Linked DNA regions of Homo sapiens: regions 1, 3, 4 and 5 are each linked to region 2. Evidence: promoter capture Hi-C in 16 types of primary human blood cells and fetal thymus (Javierre and others, 2016). All regions are on one chromosome and are shown on one strand. The core of a region is centred on a gene start or on the middle of the fragment in contact, and the rest is flanking DNA. Distances in the headings are between cores, read along the strand shown.

Evidence for each region. The method cuts DNA at HindIII sites, captures the fragments that hold promoters and counts their contacts. A CHiCAGO score of 5 or more calls a contact.
Region 1: a fragment that was not itself captured here is called in contact with the fragment with the promoter of CRYL1 in region 2 in 1 of 17 cell types (M2 macrophages); the score reaches 5.1 in M2 macrophages.
Region 3: a contact is called between a fragment that was not itself captured here and the fragment with the promoter of CRYL1 in region 2, in 15 of 17 cell types (endothelial precursors, megakaryocytes, M2 macrophages and 12 more). The highest score is 14.1, in endothelial precursors.
Region 4: a contact is called between a fragment that was not itself captured here and the fragment with the promoter of CRYL1 in region 2, in 1 of 17 cell types (M2 macrophages). The highest score is 5.2, in M2 macrophages.
Region 5: a contact is called between a fragment that was not itself captured here and the fragment with the promoter of CRYL1 in region 2, in 4 of 17 cell types (M1 macrophages, M2 macrophages, endothelial precursors and 1 more). The highest score is 6.2, in M1 macrophages.

What each region holds. Positions count from the first base shown.
Region 1 is chr13:20,750,794-20,753,493 of GRCh38, forward strand. The region is part of intron 2 of EEF1AKMT1 (EEF1A lysine methyltransferase 1); the gene reads right to left. Among named protein-coding and RNA genes, the nearest start is that of EEF1AKMT1, 22 kb to the right of the region's middle. The HindIII fragment of the contact is 4,519 bases long and covers 1-2,700 here.
Region 2 is chr13:20,524,534-20,527,233 of GRCh38, forward strand. It overlaps CRYL1 (crystallin lambda 1), which reads right to left and starts at 1,324. Exons shown (of 8, transcript NM_015974.3): 1 at 1,221-1,324. The coding sequence starts at 1,261. RefSeq lists a silencer at 1,000-1,549 and an enhancer at 1,730-1,839. The HindIII fragment of the contact is 5,179 bases long and covers 1-2,271 here.
Region 3 is chr13:20,704,707-20,707,406 of GRCh38, forward strand. All of the region lies in intron 1 of IL17D (interleukin 17D), which reads left to right. Among named protein-coding and RNA genes, the nearest start is that of IL17D, 2.4 kb to the left of the region's middle. The HindIII fragment of the contact is 7,364 bases long and covers 1-2,700 here.
Region 4 is chr13:20,674,870-20,677,569 of GRCh38, forward strand. The region is part of intron 24 of IFT88 (intraflagellar transport 88); the gene reads left to right. Among named protein-coding and RNA genes, the nearest start is that of IL17D, 27 kb to the right of the region's middle. The HindIII fragment of the contact is 3,313 bases long and covers 1-2,700 here.
Region 5 is chr13:20,723,550-20,726,249 of GRCh38, forward strand. No RefSeq gene overlaps it. Among named protein-coding and RNA genes, the nearest start is that of IL17D, 21 kb to the left of the region's middle. The HindIII fragment of the contact is 1,018 bases long and covers 863-1,880 here.

The DNA of each region.
Region 1 (2,700 bases), core at 196-2,695, 230 kb after region 2:
ATTCCCACCAACGGTGTATAAGAGTTCCCTTTCCTCCACACCCTTACCAGTACCTGGTATTTTTAATCTTTTTAACAATAGCCATTCTGGGATAACATTACATCTCACTGTGGTTTTGATTTGCATAACTTTAATGATTAGTAATGTTGAGCTCTTCCTCATATACCAGTTGGCCATTTGTATGTCTTCTTTTGAGAAATGTCTATTCAGGTCCTTTGCCCATTTTAATGGGATTATTTGGTTTTGAAATTTTAGTTGAGTTTCTTATATATTCTAGATACGAGTCCCTTGTCAGATGAATAGTTTTCAAATATTTTACACATCTCAATGGGTTGCCTCTCCATTCTGCTGATTGTTTCCTTTGCTGTGTAGAAGCATTTAAATATCATAGAGTCCCATTTGTCTATTTTTGTTTCTTGTGCTTTTGAGGTCTTAGCCATGAAATCTTTGCCTAGACCAACGTTCTGAAGTGTGTCCCTTATGTTTTTGTCTAGAAGTTTTATAGTTTCAGGATATATGCTTACGTCTAATCCATCTTGAGTTGACTTTTGCATATGGTGAGAGATAGGGGTCCTGTTTCATTCTTCTGCATATGGATATCTAATATTTCTAGCACCATTTATTGAAGAGGTGTCCTTTCCCCTTGGCACCTTTGTCAAAAATCAGTTGGCTATAGATATGTGGATTAATTTCTGGGTTCTCTATTCTGTTCCATTGGTCTATGTGTCTGTTGTAATACCGATACCATGCTGTTTTGGTTACTACAGCCTTGTAACATCATTTGAACTCAGGTAGTGTGATGCCTCCACCCTTGTTCTATTCGCTCAGGATTGCTTTGGCCATTCAGGCTGTTTTTGGGTTCCACAGGAATTTCAGGACTTTTTTTTTTCTGTGAAAAATGACATTAGTATTGATAGGGATTGTACTGGATATATACATTGCTTTGGGTATAATCATTTTAACTACGATTATTCTTTCAATCCGTGAGCACGGGATGTCTTTCCATTTGTTGGTGTCTTCAATTTCTTTCCTCAGAGTTTTGTAGTCTTCCTTGTAGACACCTTTCACCTCCTTGGTTAAATTTATTACTAGGTATTTCTTTTTTTTGTAGCTATTGTAAACAGGATTGCCTTCTCGATTTCTTTCTCAGCTAGTTCATTACTGGTGTATGGAAATGCTACTGATTTTTGTATGTTGATTTTGTATCCTGCAATCTTATTGAATTTATAAGATCTAAAAGTTTTTTCCTGGAGTCTTTAGGTTTCTCTAGGTGTAAGATCATGTCATGTCATCTATAAAGAGGGACAATTTGACTTCCTCTTTTCCAATTTAGATGCTTTTTATTTCTTTTTGTTGCCCGATTGTCCTAGTTAGGACTTCCAGTACTATGTTAAATAGCAGTGGTGGAAGTGGGCATGCTTATCTTATTCCTGATCTTAGAGGAAAGACTTTCAGCTTTTCCCCATTCAGTATGATGTTAGCTGTGGGTTTATCATATATAGCCTTTATTATGATGAGGTATGTTCCTTTATGCCTAGTTTGTTGAGAGTTTTTATCATGAAGGGATGTTGAATTTTTTAAAATGCTTTTTCTGCAGCTATTGAGATGATCATATAACATTTGTCCTTCAGTCTGTTGATGTGGTGTATTATGTTTGTTGATTTGCAGGTGTTGAACCTTCCTTGAATCTCCAGGATAAATCCCACTTAATCATGGTGTAATTTTTTTTGATGTACTATTGGGTTCTATTTACTAGTATTTTGTTGAGGACTTTTGTGTCTATATTCATCTGGGATACTGGCCTGTAATTTTCTTTATTTCTTACATTATTGTCTGGTTTTGGTGTCAGGATAATGCTGGCCTCATAGAATGAATTAGGGAGAATTCTCTCCACTTCAAACTTCTGGAATAATTTAAAGATAATTGGTATTGATTATTCTTTTTAAGTTTGGTAGAATTCAGCAGTAAAGTCATCTGGTCCTGGACTTCAGTTGTAATGTCCCCTTTATTTCTGATTTTATTTATTTTTGTCTTTTGTTTTTTTTTCTTGGTTAGTCTAGCTAGTAGTTTACTGGTTTTCCCTATGTTTTCAAAAAGCCAACTTTTCATTGATCCATTGAATATTTTTTATTCTGCATTTTGTTTGGTTCTGTCTGCTCTTCATTATTTCTTTCCTTCTACTCATTTTGGGACTGGTTTGTTCTTGCTTTTCTAGTTTCTTAAGGTGCATTGTTAGATTATTTATTTGAAACCTTCCTACTTTCTAGATGTAGATTTTTATTGCTATAAACTTCACTCTTAGCACTGTTTTTGCTGTATTCCATAGATTTCGGTATGTTGTGTTTTGATTTTCCATTGTTTCAGGAAATTTTTGGACTTCCTCTTTAATTTCATCCCTGACCTAATGATCATTCAGGAGCATATTTAAATTCCCTGTATTTTTAGTTTCCAAAGTTTCTCCTGTTATTGATTTCTAGTTTTATTGTGTTATGACCTGAGAAGATATCTGACATTTCAATTTTTCAAAAATTGTTGAGACTTGTTTTCTGTCCAAACATAACCACATGGAACTGGAGAAGGTTCCATGTGATGATGAGAAGAATGCATATTCTGTAGCTGTTGGATGCTATGTTCTACAAACGTCTCTTAAGTCCATTGGTCTAAAGTGCAGTTTAAATACAATGTTTCTTTGTTAATTTT
Region 2 (2,700 bases), core at 74-2,573:
CGCCCGGCTAATTTTGTATTTTTAGTAGAGACGGAGTTTCTCCATATTGGTCAGGCTGGTCTCGAACTCCCGACCTCAGATGATCCGCCTGCCTCGGCCTCCCAACGTGCTGGGATTACAGGGGTGAGCCACCGCGCGCGGCCCAAAGTGCACTTTTTAATATGCCTTCACTATTCAACCACGGGCACTCATGGGCCAGAAAGAACAAAGGCACAGTTAACTCCACTGCTCTGGAGAAAAGAAAGCTGACAACAAGGAATCTGATGCCTTCCTTCAGTGGGAAGGAAACACCCTGACATTGGAAGTGGTCTCCACACCGGGTTGTACACTGATGGGGGGCGGAGTCGGGGGCAGGCCAACACCTCAACAGCAGTCACCAAAAAGGTGCTTTTAACTATCAATAGCAAGTATTAACATGTTTATAGATTGCTGCTAACAGCTGGCCAAAGAAAGGTACATACAAATGCCCCTTTTTAAAAAACAAAAATAGCAAGGATTGTAACCGTAGGGGTGGGGGGCGGGGTGGGGGAAGCACACACTAAAAATCAGTTTGGGCAGAATTTAAGCTGTTAAATGGACACACTTAGCAAACTCTCTGGGCTCCATCGGCCCCCACCTCCCCTCTGGAAACATCGCCTCGCCCAGGAATTAGGACTGCGTGTATGTTCGCCTAACACCTGCTGCGGCCTCCAGCGACATCGTCGCCGACAGGACTGCGCTGGCACCCTCCCTGCTGGGCTAGTCCTGTCTCCGTCACTAAACGCCTGTGACCTTAGGTAAACTGCTTAGTCTCAGTATTCTCATTCGTAAAATGGGGATGAGAACACAGTCGTCGCAGGATCGCAGCCAGAATTCGTTTCATTCAACACGGTGCCTGGCACTTCTATGTGGACCTGCGGGCAGACGCGGCGACATTCAACAGAGTCCAGGAACCGCAGGCCCCGCGGCCTGGGCGGTCAACCTCGGAACCTCCTGCAACGCTGGCTCCCGGGAAGCAGACCCAACTCCGCGGGGCGCCTCCACCTGCCAAGCCCCTCCAGCCGCGCCTCTCCCCGAGCCCGCCAGCGCCGTAGGGGCCGCAGGGCGCAGGGCTTCGGAGGACCGGAGGCCGGGGCGGGGACAGCGACCCGGCGCCCACCCCGAGGGCCCCACGCGAGGGCACCACGTCCCCGGCGTCTCCCCGGGCTCCAGGGGCAGCAGCGCGGCTCGGAGCCCTTTACCTGCCAACGATCACCACGCAGCCGGCCGCGGAGGACGCCATGGTTGGGCCGGGGACGCGGCGCCGCGGGCGCTGGGACCAGGCGCCGGCGGAGCTGCGAGCTCTGGGCTCCGGGGAGGGCGGGTCCCGCGCCCATTGGCTGCGCGCGCGGACCGGGAGGGCGGGGAGGGCCGCTTGGTCCCTGAGTGGGGTGCGCGCCGCGGGCCCGAGACACCGGGAGACACACGGCGCGCCGACCCTCGTGGGCAGGGGCAGGACCAGCGCGGGGGCACGTCGGGGGGTGGAAAGCGGGAAGACCACGCGCTTGTGACTGTCAGCATTCACCGTGAAGTCCGTGTCTATAGGAGGGGACACGGGCAGGCTGGCACGGGCTCTAGCGCTAAAGCACCCTAGAGAAACTGTCAGAGAATGTCCCCTTTGCTAATTCGTCTCTGAAAGACGCCTGCCGCTGCCGCCAACTGCGAACTGGGCGCAGGGACTGCGACAGCAGTGAAAGAGAACACCTGATGCGTTCATCTGCGCTACGGAAGGACACGTCTGAATTCCTCCACGGAGCACACTCTGCACTCGGTTTATGTATCAGAAAAAGGAAATGCCCTCGTGCCCTGACTCCTGGCCTTCTTGGAGCCCGGAACAGACCAAGAGGAAGGGGCATCACACATTGCCTGACAGTGGTGTGCGTCCACACAGCACAAGCTGAACGGGAAATGACACAGTCATTAGACAGAGGAGACAGTACTCAAGCTGGAACCGCAGCCAACACTGAGATGATAAAAGGAAGTCTTCCTTTGTTTCCCCTGAGTCAGGAACGTGGAAAGAGAAATCTCAGGGGAGGGGTTAGGTTTTTTTGTTTTGTTTTGTTTTTTAAAGAACAGTTTCACAAATTATCGATAAATATTTGTAAAGTATTCAACCTCAAGAGAAATGAAAAGTAACACAAGGAAGATAAGTCATCTCTCACTCATCAGATTGGCTAAGTCACATGGATTGATTATATTCCCATATCCGTAATGGAGTGTTTCGGACATGCAACTTACACACAGTAGAAGGCAAGCTTAAATGTTGAGGACTTTTTGGAGGGAATGTTACAGTACATTGTTGAGACAGCCGCTAGCCTGAGCAACCGCGCCTGCTCTGGCTGAGAATACAAGGCTCCAAAGCTTCCATCTTCTGATGGAGCAGTTTCTGTAGTCAGTTACACAGGCAGCCAATATAATAATCAAGGCACCCAGGGAGTGAGCATCCTGTGACTGCTCACTACCGGAGGCTATGGGGGCAGCAGACTGGCTTGTTTGCTGCTCCCTGCAAAGTCATGCCTGAAATCCCAGCGCTTTGGGAAGCTGAGTAGTAAATAATAGCTTGAGGCCAGGAGTTCAAGACCAGCCTGGGCAACAAAGCGAGACCCCTGTCTCTACCAAAAAATTAAAAAACTTATCCAGGCTGGTGCCGCCTGTAGTCTCAGCTACTCAGTAGGCTGAGGC
Region 3 (2,700 bases), core at 181-2,680, 180 kb after region 2:
TGGGTCCGCAAGGCACTAGCTGGGGACCCTTCCGTGATGTGGACACAGTGATGTGGACCGTACTCTGCACAGGGGGCCCGGGGAGGTGCTGCTGGGGGGTGCGCGGTACTATCCACATATTTCCTGAGTGCCCCTGTGGTCCAGAGGCTGCTGGAGTGGAGCCCTGGGAAGCGCCCTCTGAGCCCCTCTAGTTTAATAGCCTAAGGAAGGAGTGGGGATAATTGGGAAAGAAACCACACCATCAGGCAGTGCATGAAGTGACATGAACAGTTTCGAGAGTATTTTGGTCTTGGAACAGAGGTCATTTCAGAAGAAAGGGACAGCCTGCAGAAGGGGAAGGCTGGAGAAGTTGGGGGCGTGTAGGCAGGGTGCCGCAGTGTCCTCAGCAGGCACCTGTGACCGTCTTCCCTCTAGCTGGAGCAGGAGGAGCTGCCCTAGGGGGCAAGGCCTCCCAGGGCCACAGAGGTCAAGAAAGGCTTCGTGAAAGAGCTGAGTCTTGATGGAGGAGAGCAAGTCGCCTACAAAGGCAGTGCTGAGGGAAGGGACAGCTGATAGCAAGCGGGAACAAAGCGCTTGGAAAATGGGGAGAGCCACAAGGCGAGCGGGGGCGGTGGGGGTGGGGGGGCGTAGGCGAGGTGTTTGCCTGTGGGGTGGGCATCGATGTAAGGCTGGAGACAGGTGCAGGAGCTGGATCCCCGCCTTGTCAGCAGTGCAGAGCTTCACCCTCACGCCTGGAATCCCAGCACTTTGGGAGGCCGAGGCAGGAGGATTTAAGTCCAGGAGTTCGAGACCAGCCTGGGAAACATAGCGAGATCCCATTTCTGCAAACAATTTTTAAGGATTAGCGAAGTGTGGTGGCACGTGCCTGTGGTCCCAGCTACTCCAGAGGCTTAAGTGGGAGGATAGATTGAGCCCGGGAGGTTCAGGCTGCAGTGAGCTGTGGTGGCGCCACTGCCTTCCAACCTGCGTGACAAAGCGAGACCCCGTCTCTAAAATAAAAATTAAAGAGAAAAAAAGTCTTGACACTTGAGATGGAGGAAGCCATACAGCCACTCTGGTTTAGGAGGGTGTCCCAATGGGGCATGGATTGGACAATGCTCTCCAGCACTTCCATCCAAAGGATCTAGGGCTTCACTCAGGCAGCGCGGTGGGAAGGGGAGACTAGGATCAGCGTGAAAGATGCTCATTAAAGAAGACAAGTGCTGTGGAGAGTCAGAGGAAATGTGATGATTTTGTCTAAAACGCATCTGGGCTTTCCTGGAGCCTCTCCCTGCCGGCTGCTGGGTAGGGAGATTTCCTTTTACTCAACAACACACAGGACCCCTATGCTGTCCTGGGAAGCCAAGTTTTAGGGCCTCCTGCCTCCTGGCTACTCTGCAGAGGACCAAGCTCACTGTGGCAGAGCCCCCTCAGAGCCCCTGCCCACGGGGAAGTTGGGTGGGACCCCTCCCGCCCTTCTCACTCCTGTCCTTCAGCTGGAGCCTGCAGGGCACACACATGGCGCCATTCATTCTGGTATCTTGGTGCTCTTGCTTTTCCTCTCTCTTCCTCCATTTCCAGGACCTGAAGGGATGGACTACGGCATTCTTCTTTCTCTAACCTCGTGTTATGCTTCTGATATACCAAATAGGATTAAAGCCACATAAGGAATCTCTCAGAACCAGAGATTAACTTCTCTGGACAGAAGCTGCTGGCCCTGCTTTCTATAGCAGATTCGAACTCTCAGGCAAACCCGTGGCTCCCCACAGGCTGGGCCAAGGGCCTAAGAGTAGTATATAGCCTCCCAAAGGCATGTCTCTCATGTTTCTGGCTTGGGTTGTTGATGGTATTTGAGCAAAATGAGAAAATACACTTAGGAACAAGTGTTGTGGGAGGAAATAATGAATTTAGTAACAAGCCTGTTGAGTTTTGCCTGCCTGAAAGGCGTACAGGTGACAATGACTGGTTGGAGCTCAGGAGACAGAGCAGGGCTGGAGGACACATGGAGAGTTAGCAGCACTGGCATTCTGTGTGTGGGAAGTTAAATTGAGTTGCCCTTGCTACAGATGACACCTATGTCGCCCCAGGCAGGATCTGGGAGCCGAGGGAGGTTATGGATGAGAATGACACACAGGGTTCGGGGATCGTGGTCTGGGCCACCCAGATCTGCCCACATGTGGAACCTCAGTGCTGGGTGGTCCCAGGAGCAGGAGTGGCAGCTGCAGCAGGGTGGCTGAAGGTGTCATGTGCATCATTTTTCATATTATTTAGCAACAGTGATGAGATCACTCCCCATGGGCAAACGGAGGTGGGTGGCTTATATTTGCTGAAGGAAGGACAGTCTTCAGGGGATGGCTGCTGGGCTGGGACTCCAGATTGCTGACTGCCAAAGCTGCTCCTGCATTTTCCTGCCAGGAGAGCCCTCTCTGCCCTCCTCCCTCCAATCACCTCTCACCATCTTTTGGGTTATTGGGAAGATTAGAAAAAGTGAGACCCAGCCAGGCCCAGTGGCTCACCTGTAAATCCCCGGCTACTCAGGAGGCGGAGGTGGGAGGATCACTTGAGCCCAGGAGTTTGAGACCAGCCTGGGCAACATAGTATGAGACTTATCACTACAAAAAAAACAGCCAGGTGTGGTCATGTTTGCCTGTGGTCCCAGCTACTTGGGAAGTTTGAGCCAGGGAGGCTGAGGCTGTAGTGAACTATGATTGTGCCTCTGCA
Region 4 (2,700 bases), core at 1-2,500, 150 kb after region 2:
CGCCCGGCTAATTTTGGGTATTTTTAGTAGAGATGGGGTTTCACCATGTTAGCCGGGATGGTCTCGATCTCCTGACCTCGTGATCCACCCGCCTCAGCCTCCCAAAGTGCTGGGATTACAGGCTTGAGCCACCGCGCCTGGCCAGTTATATTTTAATATTCTAGTCCAAGTTTGAGCATGGCTAATTAACACCTTTCCACAGTTTTGCTGGGGCCTGATGGTGTCACAAGCAGAGAATGAACAAGTCATGCTCAGTGCCCACAAGGGAGGACGAGACAAGGAGTGTACGCTCTGAGGAGGTGCATAGGCCTAAATGTAGAGGACAGGCCGACACAAGTCAGCCAATTACAGAAGGAATTGCTGGACATCTATGTGGGGAGGGAGTCTTGAGAGGCCGGGGGGCGGGTGCTGTCACTTCTCTAAGGATCATGCCTGTCAGCCTCAGTCCCAACTTGCATGTCCCTTTACCCCATAAATCTAGACCACAGTTTTGCAGGATACCCGAGTATCCAGCCCACTTTGTATACGGTATGTATCACAAAGGAATCTTGATGAATAATAAGTATTAGAAGATAGTGAACAGCACCAGAGCACCAAAGTAGTCTCAGTGTTACAGTTCCAGAAAAAGTTTGCCTATGCCAGTATACCCAGCTGGTGTAACCTGCCAATGTGTCGTCTGTGTTCTGATACAGTAATTCTCAGTAATTTGGGGTGTGCAGACTTTTTCTGTAAAGGGCCAGGTAGTAAATAGTTTAGGCTTGCAGGCCAAGTCTCATCTACCGAGAATATTCCACTCTGCTGTTGTGTATTGAAAGCAGCTGTACACAGCGTGTAAGTGAATAAATGTGATAGTGTTCTATAAAACTTAATTCTTGGACACTGAAGTTAGAATGTTATATGAGTTTTATATGTCACAAAATATTATTATTGTTTGCTTTTCTTCCTAACCATTTTAAAATGTACAAATCATTAGCTTGCTGGATAGACAAAAATAGGGTGGGCCAGATTTGGCCCACACACTGTAGTTTGCTAATCCCTGCTCTAAGCCAAAGTCTCCATGAATACTTTTGGTAATGACAGGTGGGGCCTGGGAATTATCCTTTTGATCAAAGCACTGCTTGAAGCCATTTCATCCTGGTATACAGCTTGAACAGTAAAAGTCTGTATCAGTGAACTTCTCTTAAAACCACCTTAGTTGTTTACAACTCACCCACCTTACTAAGTCAACACACATCACAGAGCATATGATGAGATTTTGTATCTTCAACAGAACATGCTCCTTAACTCTCGCCCTTAGCCTGTTGCCCTGAGTTTTCAGTCCTTGTCATAATCCCATTCCTGGCATTCATTCAACATCCATGGACCACCTTCCTGAACTCATCACATCTTATGTGAACAAGTTACTTAAATCTCTTTGTCACAGTTTCCTCATCAGTAAAATGAGACTGAAAACAGTACCTTCCTGATAGGGTTGCTGAGGAGGAAATGGGCTCATGTGGAAAGCTCTTAGAGAAACTCCTGATAAGGGCAAGCATGTGCAAGGGTGAGCATGGCTACTGTGACTCCCGCCTGACAAAGGGAGTGCATGGGCAGGGCCTGGAATACCAGTGTCCACTGCACTGCCAGCGCCCATGTTCTCACCACTGCCAGTGTGTGACCTCTGAGTGTGAGAGCCTCAGTTTCTCCCTAACACAAGAGGGTCATGTTTATCCATGCAGTGTAACCAAGTGTACCCCTGTCTCACTGTTGAGTTGAATTTTGTTTTTTTAAACAAGAATTACTAGTGCTTATAAATAAAAATAAATGTTGGTTCTTGAAGTTACCAATTTGGAAAGCTGAATATTTACTTCAGTAATGCTGCTGTTAATCAAAACATTTGTGAAACTCCTTTTTTATAATTGCCTGCAGAGGCAAGTTACAAAAAGCACAGGAAATTGAATCCAAAACTTTTACAAAATACATATGCACATACATACATATATATGCATACACACATATATATGCATGCATATATCCTATCTGTAAAATATATACACATGTATTTTATATATACGTGTGTGCTCATACATACAAACACACATTTTATGAGTTTTTACCCTCTTTCCCTTCCTACCTTTCTGCTGTTTTATCTACAGATAAGCATTTTCTCACGTTTTCTAGCCATAATAAGTACTCAGTAAATACCAACATTCTTCCAGCTTCACCTCTCATATCCTCTTTATATGCTAGGTATTAAGTATTTAAGTTTGCCACATAACAAATATATAATGTTACCTCCTTTGTTCTCTTCACTGAGTCCCTCCAGAGTCTCCCTCTCCTCACTTGAGTATTGCCTATACAGTAGCTATCGGCGTTCATTTTTACAATTTTAATATATTCCTGTTAGGTTTTGTTGGGTAATAATGTAATGGGATCAATAGAAGTAGGGGGTGAGGGTTGAAATCAAACTGAGAATTGCAGCTGTAACAATGTAAGAATGAGCTGAAATTCTCAGAGTAAGGCTAGGTCCAAGCAATGGTCCTTGTAAAATTATCAGAGTATTATGTCATCTGAGCTGATAAGGTCATTACTTTCTTGGACTGTTGGTTGGGAAAGTACTTTGGATCCCTAGCTGTGGTGCGCTGCCTCTTAACTTTGGAAAGGGACAGGAGCAAAGGAAGATCAGCTTCCTGGTAATAAGAGGATAGGCCATTTGCAAGT
Region 5 (2,700 bases), core at 122-2,621, 200 kb after region 2:
GGATCCTCTGGTGGTGGTAAGTCTAGAACACATTCCTGTCCAGGAACCAGAAGGTCCACAGCAACAACAACACAAATCCATACATTAAAAAGGACTGCCTTTTTTTTTTTTTTTTTTTTTGAGTCGGAGTCTCACTCTGTTGCCCAGGCTGGAGTGCAGTGGCGCGATCTCGGCTCACTGCAAGCTCCGCCTCCCGGGTTCATGCCATTCTGCTGCCTCAGCCTCCCGAGTAGCTGGGACTACAGGCGCCCGCCACCTCGCCCGGCTAGTTTTTTGTATTTTTAGTAGAGACGGGGTTTCACCGTGTTAGCCAGGATGGTCTCGATCTCCTGACCTCGTGATCCGCCCGCCTCGGCCTCCCAGAGTGCTGGGATTACAGGCGTGAGCCACCGCGCCTGGCCCAGAACTGCCTTTTAAAGCAGCAACTTAGGTGTGTTTTCCGTCATCGCTGCTGTTGTGTAACACTTTCCAGGTCACTCCTCAAATATAAACAGTGCAAGCGTTGGAGGAAGGGCACACAAGGAGAGGAAACTATCTGCATGGGGAAAATGTCATGATTTTATTCACTGCATTAATTATTAGTTTAACCTCAGCTTGCTAAAAGGTAGCACATTCCTAACAGAAGAAATGAGCTTTCCATTTGAAGATCGAGAAAGGCAGCCTGTGTTTTTTCTCTGTACCGTACATTCATCCGCTTAGTGACTATCTACTGGGCACCTGCCTGGTTCTAGTCACCCAGCTCCTGCAAGGCGGCAGTAAGCGAGACAGCCTCCCTCCTCCACTAAAATGATGAAATGGCAAAGCTGCTCAAGCGCCTCGCACCTGAGTGCCGCTCTATGAACCTGCTCCCTTCACCTCACTAAGCTTCATTTTCCTTCCGTGTGAAATGAGGTCACAGCGCCCACCCTGTGAGGATTCAACACTGTTGGTAAAGTGCCTGGCACAGTGCCTGGCACACATGAACACGTGTGGACAGGGACACATCATTGCACTGCAGTCATTCATAAGCCACATTGAAAATAAACATCAAGCTAAGCCTTCTGCATTTTAAACTTATCTTTTATACCAAAAAAAAGTCACTTGTTATGTCGCTTTAGGAGGCATCTGTCACTTACAAGTGACTTTTTTTTTTGTATGAAAGGTAAGTTTAAAATGAAATCGCTGGGCCGGGTGCAGTGGCTTATACCTGTAACCCCAGCACTTTGGGAGGCTGAGGTGGGTGGATCACCTGAGGTCAGGAGTTGGAGACCAGCCTGACCAACATGGTGAAACCCCATCTCTACCAAAAATACAAAAAAATTAGCTGGGCGTGGTGGCGCGCAACTGTAATCCCAGCTACTTGGGAGGCTGAGGCAGGAGAATCACTTGAACCCAGGAGGCAGAGGTTGCAGTGAGCCGAGATCATGCCATTGCACTCCAGCCTGGAAAACAAGAGTGAAACTCCATCTCAAAAAAAAAAAAAAAAAGGCTGGGCACGGTGGCTCACGCCTGTAATCCCAGCACTTTGGGAGGCCAAGGCGGGTGGATCACGAGGTCAGGAGTTTGAGACCAGCCTGGCCAAGATGGTCTCTACTAAAAATACAAAAACCCTGTCTCTACTAAAAATACAAAAATTAGCAGGCGCAGTGGTGGGCGCCTGTAATCCCAGCTACTCAGGAGGCTGAGTGAGACAGGAGAATCGCTTGAACCCAGGAGGCGGGGATTGCAGTGAGCTGAGATCGTGCCACTGCACTCCAGCCTGGGTGACAGAGCAAGACTCCATCTCAAATAATAATAATAATAACTGACAAGTAAAATAATAAACAAATAAAACAAAATCTAGAACTTTAACTGGGCAGCAGCATTTAAATACAGTATGTTGAAATTAGAGGTGGTGGCTAAGCTTGGGAAGGTACTGTTTCAATGAATAACAAGATCTTCTTGGGACAAAATTTTTTTCTCTTGCTAAAACTGAAGGGTTTTTTTTGGTGGGGGGGGGGGTGTTGCAGAGATGGGAGGTTGGTATTGTGTTTTATCAAACAAATAAGGAGGTTTACTGGCTAGATAAACTGTGCCAGCCAAAGTTCAGTGACATCTCCCTCCCTGCTCCCAGATCCACTTGGTTTATTTCACACATTTCCCTCCATGCCTTTCATTCCCAGGATTTGTGGAGGGGCAACACATGATATTGTACATTTCAGAGCTTCTTCCCCTCCTCCCAGAAAAGTGCATGTTTCCTTCACATGAATTCTACCTGGAGGATTCTGTGGCAACCTTTGGAATGGAGGTGCTTTGCTGGTTACTGAAGATCGTTTCCAACTGACAGTATTTCAATTATATACTTGTTCTACAAAAATGGAATCATTTGGGAACAGAAATCCAAAAACACTCTGCAAATACCAACAGTTCCACAGTCAGGGGCCAGTTATCTCATTATGTCTTACCGCATCTCTTCCAGCAGGGCAAAGGGGGGAAATGGTCATTTTTAGTAACTGGTGCCAGCTCTGATTTTAGGAAGGAATGAAAGGAGAAAGAGTACAGAACCCCCATCTGAAATGGGGTCTTAAAGTTCCCCCTGCCTTTCATCTCTTCTTGCTGTTCAGGCCCTCCTCACCCCAGACACGCATCTGAAGAGTTTCTGAGAAGTGCTGGAATTTTGTTAGCAAAACAGAAATTACTCTTCTACCCCTTCCCACTAATCAGGAGGGACTTAAAAAGACG